Linked DNA regions of Homo sapiens: region 2 is linked to region 1. Evidence: promoter capture Hi-C in 16 types of primary human blood cells and fetal thymus (Javierre and others, 2016). All regions are on one chromosome and are shown on one strand. Each heading gives the region's core, a stretch centred on a gene start or on the middle of the fragment in contact. The rest is flanking DNA. Distances are from core to core; before and after follow the strand shown.

Region 1 (6,839 bases), core at 3,657-6,156:
GCTTAGCACAGTGCCAGGCTTATAGTACATGGTTAACACAAGTTCCCTATTATTGCTATAGTACCTTGCCAAACTTCTTTTTTATCAGCCTGATTAATGGGGGGGAAACTACCTTCTTCCTCGGGTCTTCTGATTTCCTGGAAAATTAGTAAACTGTAGTAAAACTATGGACATCAGTCCCTAAGATCATAGCACTAGGCTAGGCAATGTGGGAACTTCAAAAGAATTTTAGAACATAGTTCTCGTCCACCAAGTGCTTACAAGTAAGTTGGAAATGCAGATACGTGGGTTTAAATCTTGACACTACTGTTTAATAACCTTAAGGACCTTGAGCAAGTTTTTTTTTAAATCTCTCTAGGCCTCAGTTTCTTCTTTTTAAAAATGGGGATTATAACAGTAATCACCTCATTGAGTTAATATGATAATTAAATAAGTGAATAGAAGGAAAATGGTCCAACAGTGTTGACATATGGTAAATGCTAACTATTGCTATCTATCACCATGAAGCAGTGTATGTATGAGGAAGTGCCCACAGGAGTGTGCCTCCGGGATGAAGCAAAGCAACAGAGATCCAAGCAGGAGAGGCTGCAACAGGCTGGAGATATGCAGAGTCTTCATGGGGGAGGTAAGACTTAGCTGAGTTTGCAGGCTAGGTAAGCTTGAGACAGGCAAAGACACGTTCAGGAAGAAATAGCATTACCAAAAATACTAAGAAGGAAATTGGCAGGGGCATTTGTTACTACAAACTGCCTTACTAATTCCAGCATACCAGGATTCTCTTTGAGACTTGCAATGCGTAACAGGTAAGTGCTTAATGAATATTTTCCAACTTGTAAAGGACACAGGGAAGTGTGGATTATTCCTTCCCACCCCCAAAATTATTTTACGTCAGTTTCTTGAATTCTGCAAAATTCTCATCTAAATTATTGCAGCTAAGTTTATGCAGTTGTATAGTTGGGGGTGGGCAGTGGGAGAATTTGTAGCTGTAATATCCTGTTTTGACAGTAGGTGGCTCCCTTACATATATGTAAGAAAAGTGGCACTGTGGTCTGTATAGGAAATCACTTAAGTCACTTGAGTAATTGTCACATACTGTATGTCATTGAGGCTGAACATGGAGGCAGTTCTTCACATTGATTTTTGTATGAAAGATGACATTAATGCAGCAGAAGGAACTTTCTTCCTTCTTAGGAACTATGCTTACCTCTTGAGGGTGACAATCTGATTATTATTCTGGGAGTGAAGGTCAGATCCTTGGCAGTACATGTTCCCTCAACTTCTCTCATAAAGATTGGCATTCAGCTTTAACAGTACCTCGTTCATACATGCTATAGACATCACAATCTGGGCTTCTAACTACTACAAAATTATGCTAGAACTTTAGTAATGGCATGGATAACCCACCAGGAACCTTTTCATTTTACCATTCCTTGATATTTAGACTCCACAGACATCAGCTTCATTTCATTCAATATCAGAAATAAGTAGTAGCTCCAGTTAGTCTCTCTTTTTCCGTCAAGTGGACCTGCTTAAATTCTACAGCTGGTAATCTCAGCTCCATTCTGGCCAGTTCGACCCATTGTCCCATCCTGTTACTCCTTATCGATCTGAGGTTTGCTAGAATCCTCTGTTCTGGGGTACTGTGGGAGAAAGTCTACAAATAGAGCAAATCTGGGCCACTGCAGATTTCAATCACATGTGACTAAATTACAATCAGATCATAAAAATTAGTCTGCAACACTGATATTGATTACAAATTTTATAAGTATCAATAAACTATGCTCTCATTTTTGGTACTTCAAGTCATTTTTATTACTAAGTTGCTGACAGGGATAACCTATTTTTTTAAATGCCTAATGCACACATGTATCATTGTCCATCAGAATCAAAGACAGAATTTGTACATAATATTGAAAAATGGAAAAGTGCTTGCTGCACATGGTATTTTAGATTAGCTACTTTTGCAAAGTGTGTACCCCTGGACCACCTGAACTAGAATAACCTGGAATGCTTGTTAAAATGAAAATTTTCAGCTGGGCGTGGTACCTCATGCCTGTAATCCCAGCACTTTGGGAGGCTGAGGTGGGCGGATCACGAGGTCAGGAGATGAGACCATCCTGGCTAACACGATGAAACCCCATCTCTACTAAAAATACAAAAAATTAGCCAGGTGTGGTGGCACATGCCTTTAGTCCCAGCTACTTGGGAGGCTGAGGCAGGAGAATTGCTTGAACCCGGGAGGCAGAGGTTGCAGTGAGCCGAGATCATGCCACTGCACTCCAGCCTGGCAACAAAGTGAGATTCTGTCTCAAAAAAAAAAAAAAAAAAAAAAGAAAGAAAGAAAGAGCAAGGGATGTCCTTAACCAGAAAAATGATATTTATTTTTTCATTTTCAGCAAACATCATACTTAAAGGGGTAATGCAAGCATTTATTTTAAGCTAGTGGAACTGAGTATTACTACTGCTACTATTCAAAATTGAACTGGAAGTTTTAATTAGAACAGTAAAAGAGGGAAAAGACATGAAAAGTAAATGTACTGACTGATACTACCTGACTTCAAGGCTTACTGAAAAGCTACCAGACAGTGTGGTATAAGCCAAAGAATAAATAAATAGATCAGTGGAACAGAATAAGGAGTCCAGAAATAGACCCACACAGACATAGTCAATTCTTTTGAAAAAGGTGCAAAGGCAATCCAAAGGAGAAAAGATAATATTTTCAACAAAAGGTGCTGGCACAACAGGACATCCAGAAGCAAAAAAGAAAAAAAGAAAAAAAAATGAAGACACAAACTCTATAGCCTTCACAAAAATTAACTCAAAATGATAACAGACCTAAATGTAAAACACAAAATTATAAAACCTATAGGATATAACAGAAAAAAACTAGATGACCTTGAATTTGATGATGATTTTTTAATAGAATACCAAAAGCATCATCCATAAAAGAAAAAATGGATAGGTTGGGCTTCATGAAAATTGAAAACTTCTGCACTGCAAAATACCTTGTTAAGGGAATGAAAACACAAGCCACAGACTTGGATAACATTTTTGCAAAACACATATGTGATAAAGGACTGTTAACCACATCATACAAAGAACCCTTAAAACTAAACAATATGAAACAAAAAACCCAACTTTTAAAATGAGCAAAAAATTTCAACAGATATCTCACTAAAGGAGATATATAGATGGCAATTAAGCATATGAAAAGGTGTTCAACATCATATGTCATTAGGGAATTGCAAATTAAAATAACAATAACATACTACTACACACCTATTAGGATGGCCAAAACAATACATTTACAACAACAAATGCTGCCAAGGACGTGAAGAAATTGGAATTCTTTTCTCTGCTGACATGTGGGAATGCAGAATGGTATAGCCACTTTGGAAAGCAGTTTGGCAGTTTCTTACAAAACTAAACATAGTCTTACCATGTGGTTCAACAATTGTACTCCAGTAAAAAGATCAGTGGTTGCCAGGGGTTGGGGGAAGGGAGGGATGATAGAGCACAGAGCATTTTTATAACAGTAAAACTATTCTGTATGATACTGTAATGGTGGATACCTGTCCTTATACATTTGTCCCAACCCATAGATTCCACGGCACCAAGAGTGAATCCTAAACTATGGACTTCAGGTGATAATGATGGGTTCATCAATTATAACATGTGCCACCGTGGTGCAGGATGTCAGTAGCCAGGGAGGTTAGGTGTGTGGGGATAGGGATAGACGGGAACTTTGTACTTTCTACTCAATACTGCTGTGAACCTAAAATTGCTCTAAAAAATAAAATTTATTAATTTTTTTAAAAGTGGGGACAAAGTCTTCCCTGGAACCTGTCACAAGACATGCCTATGACATGCTTTTGGTGTCTACATATCAAGCCAGCTTTTTTCCACTTAATTAACATCTCATATTCATTAAACAATTATTAATAAAATACCTACCATGGGATAGGCATTGTTCTAGGTACTAGGAATAAAGTAGCAAATGAAGCAGATATTTAAAAACTCAGATATTTCACATCTGGGAATCTGAATAAATTACATGCGATACAAAAAATTCTTATACTCAAATAACTCCACTGTTATTTATAATGGTGAAAACTTGAAAATATACTACATAATAGTGGGAATACTTCAGTAAATTATGACACATCCACTCAATTGCATATTATACAGCTATTAAAAATACAGCCCATAATAAGATATAAAAATGTCTGTGTTGTAATGTTGACTGTAAAGGAGTAACATAAGATATGGTAAGAATGTAGATAAGGTGAGTCATTACATGAACATGTTAACAACATTAATCCTTTGTTAATGAATCTATGGGTGGCAGATTTGTACTCCCAAATTTTCATAAAGAGCATGTCTTATTTTTATAATGGAAAATGTCCCAATAAAATATTTTTAAGCCTAGACACTTAATATTTGAATTGACTAGCCAAATCTTCATGCTTTTAATGTCGTAGGTGTGTATCTAATAATTGCTGAAGCTGGAATTTCCTTCGTGTGCAGTCAGCCACACCTCGCTATACCTGTCAAACCATCTCAATTATCCACTCCAATTGTCATGCCTCTCGTGGGTTAGTTGTAAATGGAACACAACTCTAGCATGACATTGCGACTTAAAAGAGCATATCCAGTATTTCGATGATCATTCTGGAAATATATTTCCTCTTCAAAGTTTTTACCTGTCAGTGAGGCATTTAAATTGGGGCATTCTCTTGTTTCTGAAGTCTGATAAAATCTTGACCTTAGAATATTTATTGGTAATATTTATTCATTCACAAAATTAGTTCTTAGCATATCCTATATGTCAGGCATTAGTCTAGAGCTGGGGCTAGAAAAATGAATAAGATTGGGTTCCTGACCCCAGCCCAGGCTCACACTGTAGTAAAGGGAAACAGACATGAACACTAGGTGACATGGAGTGTTAGGGGCGCTATGGTAGAAGTCTGCAGAGAGTGCAATGGGCGTCCAAATGAGGAAGTGATCACTTGCACAAGAGTGGGAGGCTTGGCTGGAAAGGCTTCTCTGAATAGGATGACATTTGATCTGTGTTTTGAAGGGCATCGTTGGCAAGGTAAGTAATCCAATTAAAGGAGGTTGCCTCAGCTAAAGCACAGTATGCTCAAAGGTGCGGATCATTTGAAAATTTGAGTTCAGGTGCAGTAGGGGTAAGGTAAGTATCCAACAGAATTTTCTACAATGATGGAAATGTTCTATATTGTCACTGTCCAATACGGTAGCCTCTAGCCACATTTGGCCAGTACAACTGAAGAATTGAATATTAACTTTCATTTAATTCTAGCTAATTTAAATTTAAATAGTTTCATCAGTTAGTGGCTACCATATTGAACAGTGCAGGTTTAGAGATAAACAGAGGCCAGTTGCAGGAGGGTCTTGCATCCCATTGAGGAGGACTGAATTTTCTTCTGCAGGGCCTTCTGTGGTCTGCAGAAAGGGCAGTACACAGGCAGTAATATTATCAGCTTTGCCTGTGGGAGTGCCCCAGCCTGGAAGCAGATAATACAGTTAGGAGATTCCCATAACCTGCCTGAGTGAGAGCATTAGTAATTAGGGAAGGAAATGGATGTGAGACTTGCTGAGAAGGGCTGGACAGGCTTAGTGACAGGTCTGAGTGTGAGGGGAGAGGGAGTGGGGGAAGTGGGATCAGGTTTGAGCCAGCTATTAAATCAATGCCAATTCATCCCATAAAGAATGCAGAGAGTGGGACAGGTTTGGAGAGTGTAAGGAACATGGCTGTGCTGTAGCCAAGCAGGCATAGGGTAGCAGGAATAGGCCGAGGTAAACAGCCTAGACATCTCAGCGGGATTGGGGTGCAAGTGCACAGTCCTGTGTCTTATATAGTCACAGCCATGTAGGCATAACATAGAGCAGCTCCCCACCTGGCTCTCAGCCACTAGTGTTTGTGTAGTGTATAAATGTAACACTGACCCTGTGAAGGGGCTGCTGAATAAAGCCATGTCTCATTTACCTGCTGTCTCTCCAGTGTTCTTCCAGCTCCCTGCCCCACATCCACCCACTGTCCTCAGACCTCAGCTGGGGCTGCACCCCAACCCTGAGTGTGACAGAGAGAAGATGAGTGTTAGAGATCATGATCCTGAAGTGCTGACGAGAAATTCAGGTGAGTTATTACTATCTTTCTTTCTTTTTCTTTTCTTTTCTTTTTTTGAGATGGAGTCTTGCACTCTGTCTCCCAGGCTGGAGTGCAATGGCGTGATCTTGGCTCACCCCAACCTCCGCTTCCCAGGTTCAAGTGATTCTCCTGCCTCAGCCTCCTGAATAGCTGGGATTACAGGCAAGTGCCACCATGCCTGGCTAATTTTTGTATTTTTAGTAGAGATGGGGTTTCTGTACGTTGGCCGGGTTGGTCTCGAACTCCTGACCTCACGTGATCCACCCACCTAGGCCTCCCAAAGTGCTGGGATTACAGGCATGAGCCACTGCTCCCAGCCACTTATTACTATCTTTCTACTTGCATTGTGCCAAGAGGAAACTGACAGTTCAGCCCTCGTCAACTGAGAGACAGTTGAATTAAAGTAATCTGATGGCATCTCTGGCATTTATTCAGCCATAAGAAAACAGCTGCTAAAAGTGGAATGCAGCTTTTTTAGAATTTCAGCAAAGGTGGAAGGAGATCCAAAAAATTCCTTCTTAGCTGTGCATGGTGGCTCATGCCTATAATCTCAGCACTTTGGGAGGGCGAGGTGGGGGATCACTTGAGGCCAGGAGTTTGAGACCAGCCTGGGCAATATGGTGAAACCCTGTCTCTACTGAAAATACAACAATTAGCCGGGCATGGT
Region 2 (7,339 bases), core at 2,011-4,510, 320 kb before region 1:
ACTAAAAATACAAAAAATTAGCTGGGCTTGGTGGCATGCACCTGTAATTCCACCTGCTTGGGAGGCTGAGGTGGGAGCACCGCTTGAACCCGGGAGGTGGAGGTTGCAGTGAGCCGAGATCAGGTCACCGCACTGTAGCCTGGGTGACAGAATGAGACCCTGTCTTGAAAAATAAGTAAACAAAAATAAATAAATAATACAGATTTTATGGAAATTTCGTCAGTTTGCCACTAACATTCTTTTTCTGTCCTGGGATCCAATCCAAGAATTTCACTTTGCATTACTTGTCATGTCTCCTTAGTCCCCTCTCATCTGTGATAGCAACTGATCTTACCCTGTCTTTAATGAAACTTGACATTTTTTAAGAGTACCGGCCAGTTATTTTGTAGATTTTTCCTCAAATCGTTTGTCTGATGCTTTTCCATAATTAGATTGAGTGCATGCATTTTCAGCCCTTCTCAGAGCATGATTCCGGGGGGGGGTCTTATGATGTTGGTATCCAACATTATTGCTGGTGAAGTTAACCTTAGTCGCTGTGTTAGCCAGCTTTCTCCACTGTAACGTTGTAATTTTTCTCTTTGTAATGAATATTTATCTTAGAGTAGATGCTTTTGTTTTTTGAGACAGGGTCTCACTTTGTCACCCAGGCTGGAGTGCAGTGGCACAATCTCAGCTCACTGCAGCCTCAACCTCTGGGGGGTCAAGCAATCCTCCTGCCTTAGTCCCCACAAGTAGCTGGACTACAGGGGCCTGCCACCACGCCCAGCTAATGTTTTTGTACTTTTTAAAGAGACAGGGTTTTGCCGTGTTGCCCAGGCTGATCTCAAACTCCTGAGCTCAAGTGATCTGCCCACCTCAGCCTTTCAAAGTGCTATGATTACAGGCGTGAGCCAGTGCACCCAGCCTTAAAAATAAATGTGATTATATATACTTAAGGCATACAACATAATGTTATGGGATACATATAGATAGTAAAATGGTTACTATGTAAGCGCATATAAATATTTTTATGTTCACTAATGTGAAACAATAAAGACAGCAAGCCAAATGAAGATAATGTTAATGGCATTTCACACATCTTAAATTAGTAATAACAGGTTACTATATAATTAATTCCATTTCCATCCTTTGCTTGCTAAACGTTTTTCAGGATCTCCCTTTCCTGAATATTCATTAGATGCTTTACTGTGTGCCTTGCTTTATTGCAGATGGCAACCAAACACAAAGAAGTTTTCTGAGTTTTTTTATTTTTGTTTTGCTGGAGTTTTTTTGTATATCTATATCTAGTCCCCTAGCCAACTGTTTTTAAACCTTTTATGTCCTAGCACAGAGAAAAAAGTAGGATGAACTAGAAGGTGTTTGTGGATGTCCATATGGGGCTTGGTTAAAAAAAATACAGTTGTGAGAAAAATACAGGGTATCAAATTTGAATGAAACCCAGATACAATATTTTCAGATATTTCAATTTGAAATTTGAGCTTACATATTTAACCTAAATGTTTTTCCTTTCCTTGCATTGACAAATGTATTATTGAAATTCTTATAATAATCTGAAGGAATTTTGGAATTTAGGTTTAGCTTATCAAATATTTCTTGCCAAGTGCACAAGTATTACAGCTGCCACCCCACAGGTAGTTGGATGTCACTAAAAGGGCACATCAGGAGCAAATGAACAGAAAGATCCCATAAGCATGAAGACAAATGTGCCCAGTCAGCTGGACCCATTCGGCCTAGCATCGCTCCCAGCCTCACCCACTGACTCTTCCAGAAGCTCCATGGACCACTTGTCCACAAGGGGCAGCAGTGAGTTCTGCAGCGGACTGAAGAAATCCATAGCTGGCAGTGAGGGAGGGCTTCTCTTTGGCCACGCTCAGTTTCACACGCTGTGGCCAGCACTTGTGTCTTCAGCTTCAGGAATAACAGAGCCTACCCCAGAGCTCTCAGAGCCCACCCTGCCCATGTAAACAGCGAATGCATCTCTGATGTTATCACTGTCTTCCATATCAGAGTGTGTCGCACAGAAACATAGTCACTAGAATAACTGTGGTGGTAACCATAATTTAATTTAGATGGTAAATTATCTCCCTAAAACCCAAGGTTAAGACTTTAGTTCCTCCAACCATAATTTCAACCCAAGCGCCTGCCAGCAACCCTTTATACACACAGCCTGTCCCACTTCTCCATCTTCACAAAGATGTGGTACATTTCTAGGTTACGCCCGGGTTTTCTTTCTTCCTCTTCCTTTATCCCTCTGAAGCCATCTTGGGCAAACCATTACTTCTGCCCCGGAGTTCATCTCCATTTCCTAGGCCTAGTCCTAATGCTGGCCTTGTCCAGTTATCCTCAACATGAGTTGCAACTGGGAAAAAGGTATACAGAAGTAAATTTGCACGTACTGAAATTCTACTTGCTGTCAACTTAACTAAGAATCAATTACTGTTCACAGACAATTTACAGCAAAATAAGTGACTATAATTCAAACACACTTTCTGATCAATAGCATTTGGAGAAAACTGATACAGTTTTAGTGCTTTTACTTTACTATTCTACTTTCTGCTAACATCCCATTAACGGAAATGGTTTTTAAACAATAGAATGTCTTTGTTGAACACTCTCTTACAAATTTTCGATAATGTGCCCAGCTTCTGGCTGCTTCTTCAGAGACTCCTCTCCTGACCCTCCTTCCCTCCTTTTTCCCAAAGCCTCAGCTTTCAAGTCCTAGAGATGAGTGAGCCCTGGGAGTCACATTCAATAGAAAAGTATATACTTTTCAGAGCATATGCTTTTCTGGAGTTCGGAAGGGAAATTCATTTTTAAAATCCAATAGTTATTTTCTTTTTCTGTCTCTCATTTTGAAGTTTGATGCAATAATTAACTTCTGTCTTTGTTCTGAGGGAACTCAGATCCAGCTTCAGTTCCTTGTGAAAACAGCGTTTAAAATTTGCAATTCCTCATGCTACCCAGTTTTGAATAGAAGAATATGGATATCCTAGTCGTCTTCCACAACACAGAAATCTCTTCATGTTTCTCCTCCTGAGGGATAGGATAGCTTTGAGATATGAATTAAGTTTCGAAAGAAAATAACTGAAGAAGTCGTTGAGTAAAGGAAGAAGAGCTATAAGGGTGAAGCTGAAGCCCAAGCTTCCAGACAAAGCATTAGTAGACAATTCACAGACCAAATATCAGATCTTTTAATAGAATGGGTTTTCAACCTGGGCAAATCTCAAGGAGAGTTTTCTGTTAGTGTCCATGGGGAAATAGTTCTTTGTAGATAAAGTGAAAACGTCATAGATTTGGAAGGAAGTTGGAATTAGAAAGAAGCAGCTCAGAAATGGAGATGCTCACTTTTCCTATACACATTCTTTGTTCCTATACAACCAAAGCTTTGTACTTCTGTTTATCCAATTGTCAAATGAAGATGGTGCCACATGTTCCAACTCTCAGTCTGGAAGGGGCTAAGTGAAAAACATGGATGCATTAGACATGGGAAGTTCTAAGAAAGTAGAAGAGCTGTATTAATGTCAGGCAGTTTGATGTTGTTTAACTTTTTGTCAAGTAAGTCAACCTCTCTGGTCTTATTGACGTTTGTGGTCCTAGCCAATTTCCTCATGTCAGCTTCATGGTCATTTGCATGTGTATTTTTTGGTTTTACCTTCCTGTCCTTTGCCAGATTCTGGATGTCCCTTCTACTTTTTCCATGCATAATAAAACCAAACAAAACTGTATTTGGACCAATATTTTATCCAGGATCCCCCACCCCAAGCAGTATTAGGGTAAAAATACATCAACATTTGGAATCTTAGATGTCAAGATTCTCACCAATTTAGGCCATTATTTTTCAAAATGCAACAATGGTCATATTACTATGATGAGATTATAGATAGAGCTGCCATGTAAGATTGCACAGTTTGTGTACTGCACAAAGGTGCCCATCCAGGAAGTGAGGGCTAACAACTATCCAGACCCCACTCCACCTCTGCCTGAGGGAAAAGATGTTTTTCTGCACCTTATGATTGTGAAGCCATTTACTCAAGGTGCTGTGCCTGCCCAGAGAAAGCATCCTTTTCCAATTTGTACAATAGTTGCATACAGCCTAGAGATCTTGATTATTTAGATTTTGACAGAGGGGAAGAGGGGTGGGCATGAGTGGGTGGACATGAGTAGAGTAATGGTCTATTCTTTCTGCTTGACTCCAGCTCTGCCACCTCTGAGGCTACTGACTCTCCAGCAGCCTTTCCGGCTTCTCTCTCTTCCCATCACACATTTTTCCTCTCCACACTTTTTATGCAGCTTCATTCTTCTTTCTCCTCCCTTCCTAGTATCTTTCTTTCCCTCTCATCATTTCCTGCCCTTTCCTCTCACTCCCAGGAGATGGGCCGATGGCCAAGTGCCATCACTGTTATATTGACCTCCTTCTTGAGTCCTAGTCACCAATAATATCACTATAATCACTTTGGAGTTTCTTCTCATCATCAAATCTTGACACAATTACAAAGTAGTAGAAGTCTTGCATCTTTGCTTTATCCTTTTCAATACTCTGCCAGACACCCCCCTTTCCCAGCCAACAAGGGTCCAGAACTCCCAGTGTGGACAGAACTGATAGTCTGTTAAACTTGTGTAATAGTTCATTAAACTGTTTATGGCCAACCACATTGCATCTCCTGGGAGTGTTGTCATTTAAAAAGCAGGTGCTTGGGATACCATGTTTTAGCCATAAGGAAGGAATCTCACAGGGGAGAATTCAGAGCAGCTTTCTAGCTGAGGTGAATGATGGACAATTTTTTTGATAGAAGCACCCCCTCAAACCTGTGCTTACTCTGCCTTAGGATTTCTTTCAGGTATTTTCACAGATGATCTTGAGACAAAATTGCCAGCCTCCACACCTGCATCTCTTCCTCCTTGCTGCTTATATAGCTGAGCTTATAATCTCTTCTCTAGAGAGCTCATATCAGAGCTTTCAAATTGACTGTCCCGAAAGTCATGACAACTATTTTCTCAGCCAGACTCATCCAGAAGCTTGGAAGTCCAGCAACTACCCTTCCTTTAATGTTAGCAGAACTCCTCAAACTCCTCTATTTAAGTACTCCTAATGCAAGAGTGAAACTGGAGGTTTGGGAGGGCTCAGAAGAGCAGGATCCGAAAGGCCCCACCCTCAGCATGAAGTTTCTTTTTAAGTCACTGTTTTTCTTCCTATTTTTGTCAATTTTGCATTCTATTCTATAATACATCCATTTTTGTTTTGAAGTAAAAATTACATTTCCCCAAGTCTTCAAGCAAAATTGATCCTGCAGAAAGGTGCTTGTTTATTCTGCAGCTTCTGGAACCCTCAGGCCCTCCAGCTTGAGAAACTAGAAGCCTAGTTAAAATCCATATTTCTTTGCATGTTATACAAGGACCTTCTTGACAGGTGCATATTTATCTCTACAGTTCCAGTCCTCCAACCAGCTTCCTGCAGTCCAAGCACACTGAACTCCTTGAAATTCTGTGACCATCTTAGTGTTTCTTATTTCAGAAAAATTGCTTATGCTGTTTCCTCAAACTAGAATGTACTGTCCCCCATCTCTCTGCCTATCTTCTAGACCCATCTGAAGGATCATATTGCCCTGTGAAGCTCTCTATGACAAGCCCCAACAGGCTGAATAAGCTATCCCTCCCTTTATGCCACCAAAGTTCGCTCTTCTCCCATAGTGTACATGTCTCTTGATTGTAATTTGTTGCTTACGCTGCCCTTCTGCACTAGACTGTAAATTGCTTCAGGGCAGGGTCTGTGTCTTATTCCTCTTGGCCGTCGCTGGACCAGCACCATGCCTGGCAAATGGTAAGACAGGAGGTAAGTATGGCTATGACATTTCACCCTAGTGCTCACCAGGGTTGACCTGGTTGAGCTGAATGGACACGGGGATGTCCCTGTCCTCTCTCTTTACTCCTCGAGTGTCCCTTCCATTCTTTCTGTCAAATAGGATGGTCCCAGATGAACAAAGACATTCTAGCCAAGGAGTTTCAGAAACTTTCCATCACTGATGAGCCCTCCAAACAAGCTCTCCAGACCCAACACTTAGTAGGTTCTCAGTCAATATCTGCTAAATATTTTAATGAACCAATGATCACCACAATTGTTTCTCTGATTAAGCAGTATTATATTTTCTTAGTCTTATCTTTCAGAGATTCCTGATGTCTAAATCCCAGCGATCTAACAAAATATCAACATTTACTATACATTCAATAAAAGTATAATAAGTAAATAAAGAAATGCACTAATATCTTCATGTGTCCTTTCATGTTTCTTAAAATGTATATGCACAAACAGGGCATGGTGGCTCAAGCCTATAATCCCAGCACTTTGGGAGGCTGAGATGGGGGATCACTTGAGGCCAGGAGTTTGAGACCAGCCTGGCCAACAGGGCAAAACTCCCATCTCTACTAAAAAAAAAAAAAAAAAAAAAGCCAGCCTCCGTGGCTCACAACTGTAATCCCAGCACTTTGGGAGGCTGAGGCGGGCGGATCATTTGAGGTCAGGAGTTCGATACCAGCCTGGCCAACATGGTGAAACCCCGTCTCTACTGAAAATACAAAAATTAGCCGGGCACAGTGGCATGTGCCTGTAATCCCAGGTATTTGAGAGGCTGAGACAGGAGAATCACTTGAACCTGGGAGGCAGAGGTTGCAGTGAGCCAAGATCTCACCACTGCACTCCAGCCTGTGCAACAGAGCAAGACTCTGTCTCAAAAAAAAAAAAAAAAAAAAGTACATGCACTTCCTATTTTAACTTACTACCCTAACACCTGATATGTTTACCAGCCTGCTAAGGAACAAAGAACTGGGTTGCCACTCAGAAATAAAATTTCGACAAATGGGTGATGATCAAAATTTCTTTCTGAAAACCTTACCGGTTACCAGTGTGATTATCTTTTTTAAATTACAGGCTCCATTAGGAGTAGAACTTTTTTGAGTAGCTATGATCTCCACCATGGCTAATATAATTTAATATTTATAATACCATTGTCCTCAAGGTAAGGACCACCTCTCAGTATAAATGCTCAACAGATGTGGTGTTGAAGCATGGCACTACTCTTAGGCATTTTTCATTTGTTTGTTTTTTTGAGACTGAGTCTCGCTCTCTATCGCCCAGGCTGGAGTGCAGTAGCACGATCTCAGCTCACTGCAACCTCCACCTCCCAGGTTCAAGTGATTCTCCTGCCTCAGCCTCCTGAGTAGCTTGGGATTACAGGCGCCCACCACCATGCCTGGCAATTTTTGTATTTTTAGTAGAGATGGGGTTTCACCATGTTGGCCAGGCTGGTCTCGAACTCTTGACCTCAAGTGATCTGCCCGCCTTGGC

What was found. Contacts are between HindIII fragments. The CHiCAGO score rates a contact against its expected background, and 5 or more counts as called.
Region 2: a contact is called between a fragment that was not itself captured here and the fragment with the promoter of LINC01590 in region 1, in 1 of 17 cell types (megakaryocytes). The highest score is 5.9, in megakaryocytes.

What each region holds. Positions count from the first base shown.
Region 1 is chr6:87,392,218-87,399,056 of GRCh38, forward strand. It overlaps LINC01590 (long intergenic non-protein coding RNA 1590), which reads left to right and starts at 4,907. Exons shown (of 2, transcript NR_026784.1): 1 at 4,907-6,160. The HindIII fragment of the contact is 8,043 bases long and covers 657-6,839 here.
Region 2 is chr6:87,077,412-87,084,750 of GRCh38, forward strand. It overlaps the pseudogene RN7SKP209. Among named protein-coding and RNA genes, the nearest start is that of CGA, 14 kb to the right of the region's middle. The HindIII fragment of the contact is 242 bases long and covers 3,140-3,381 here.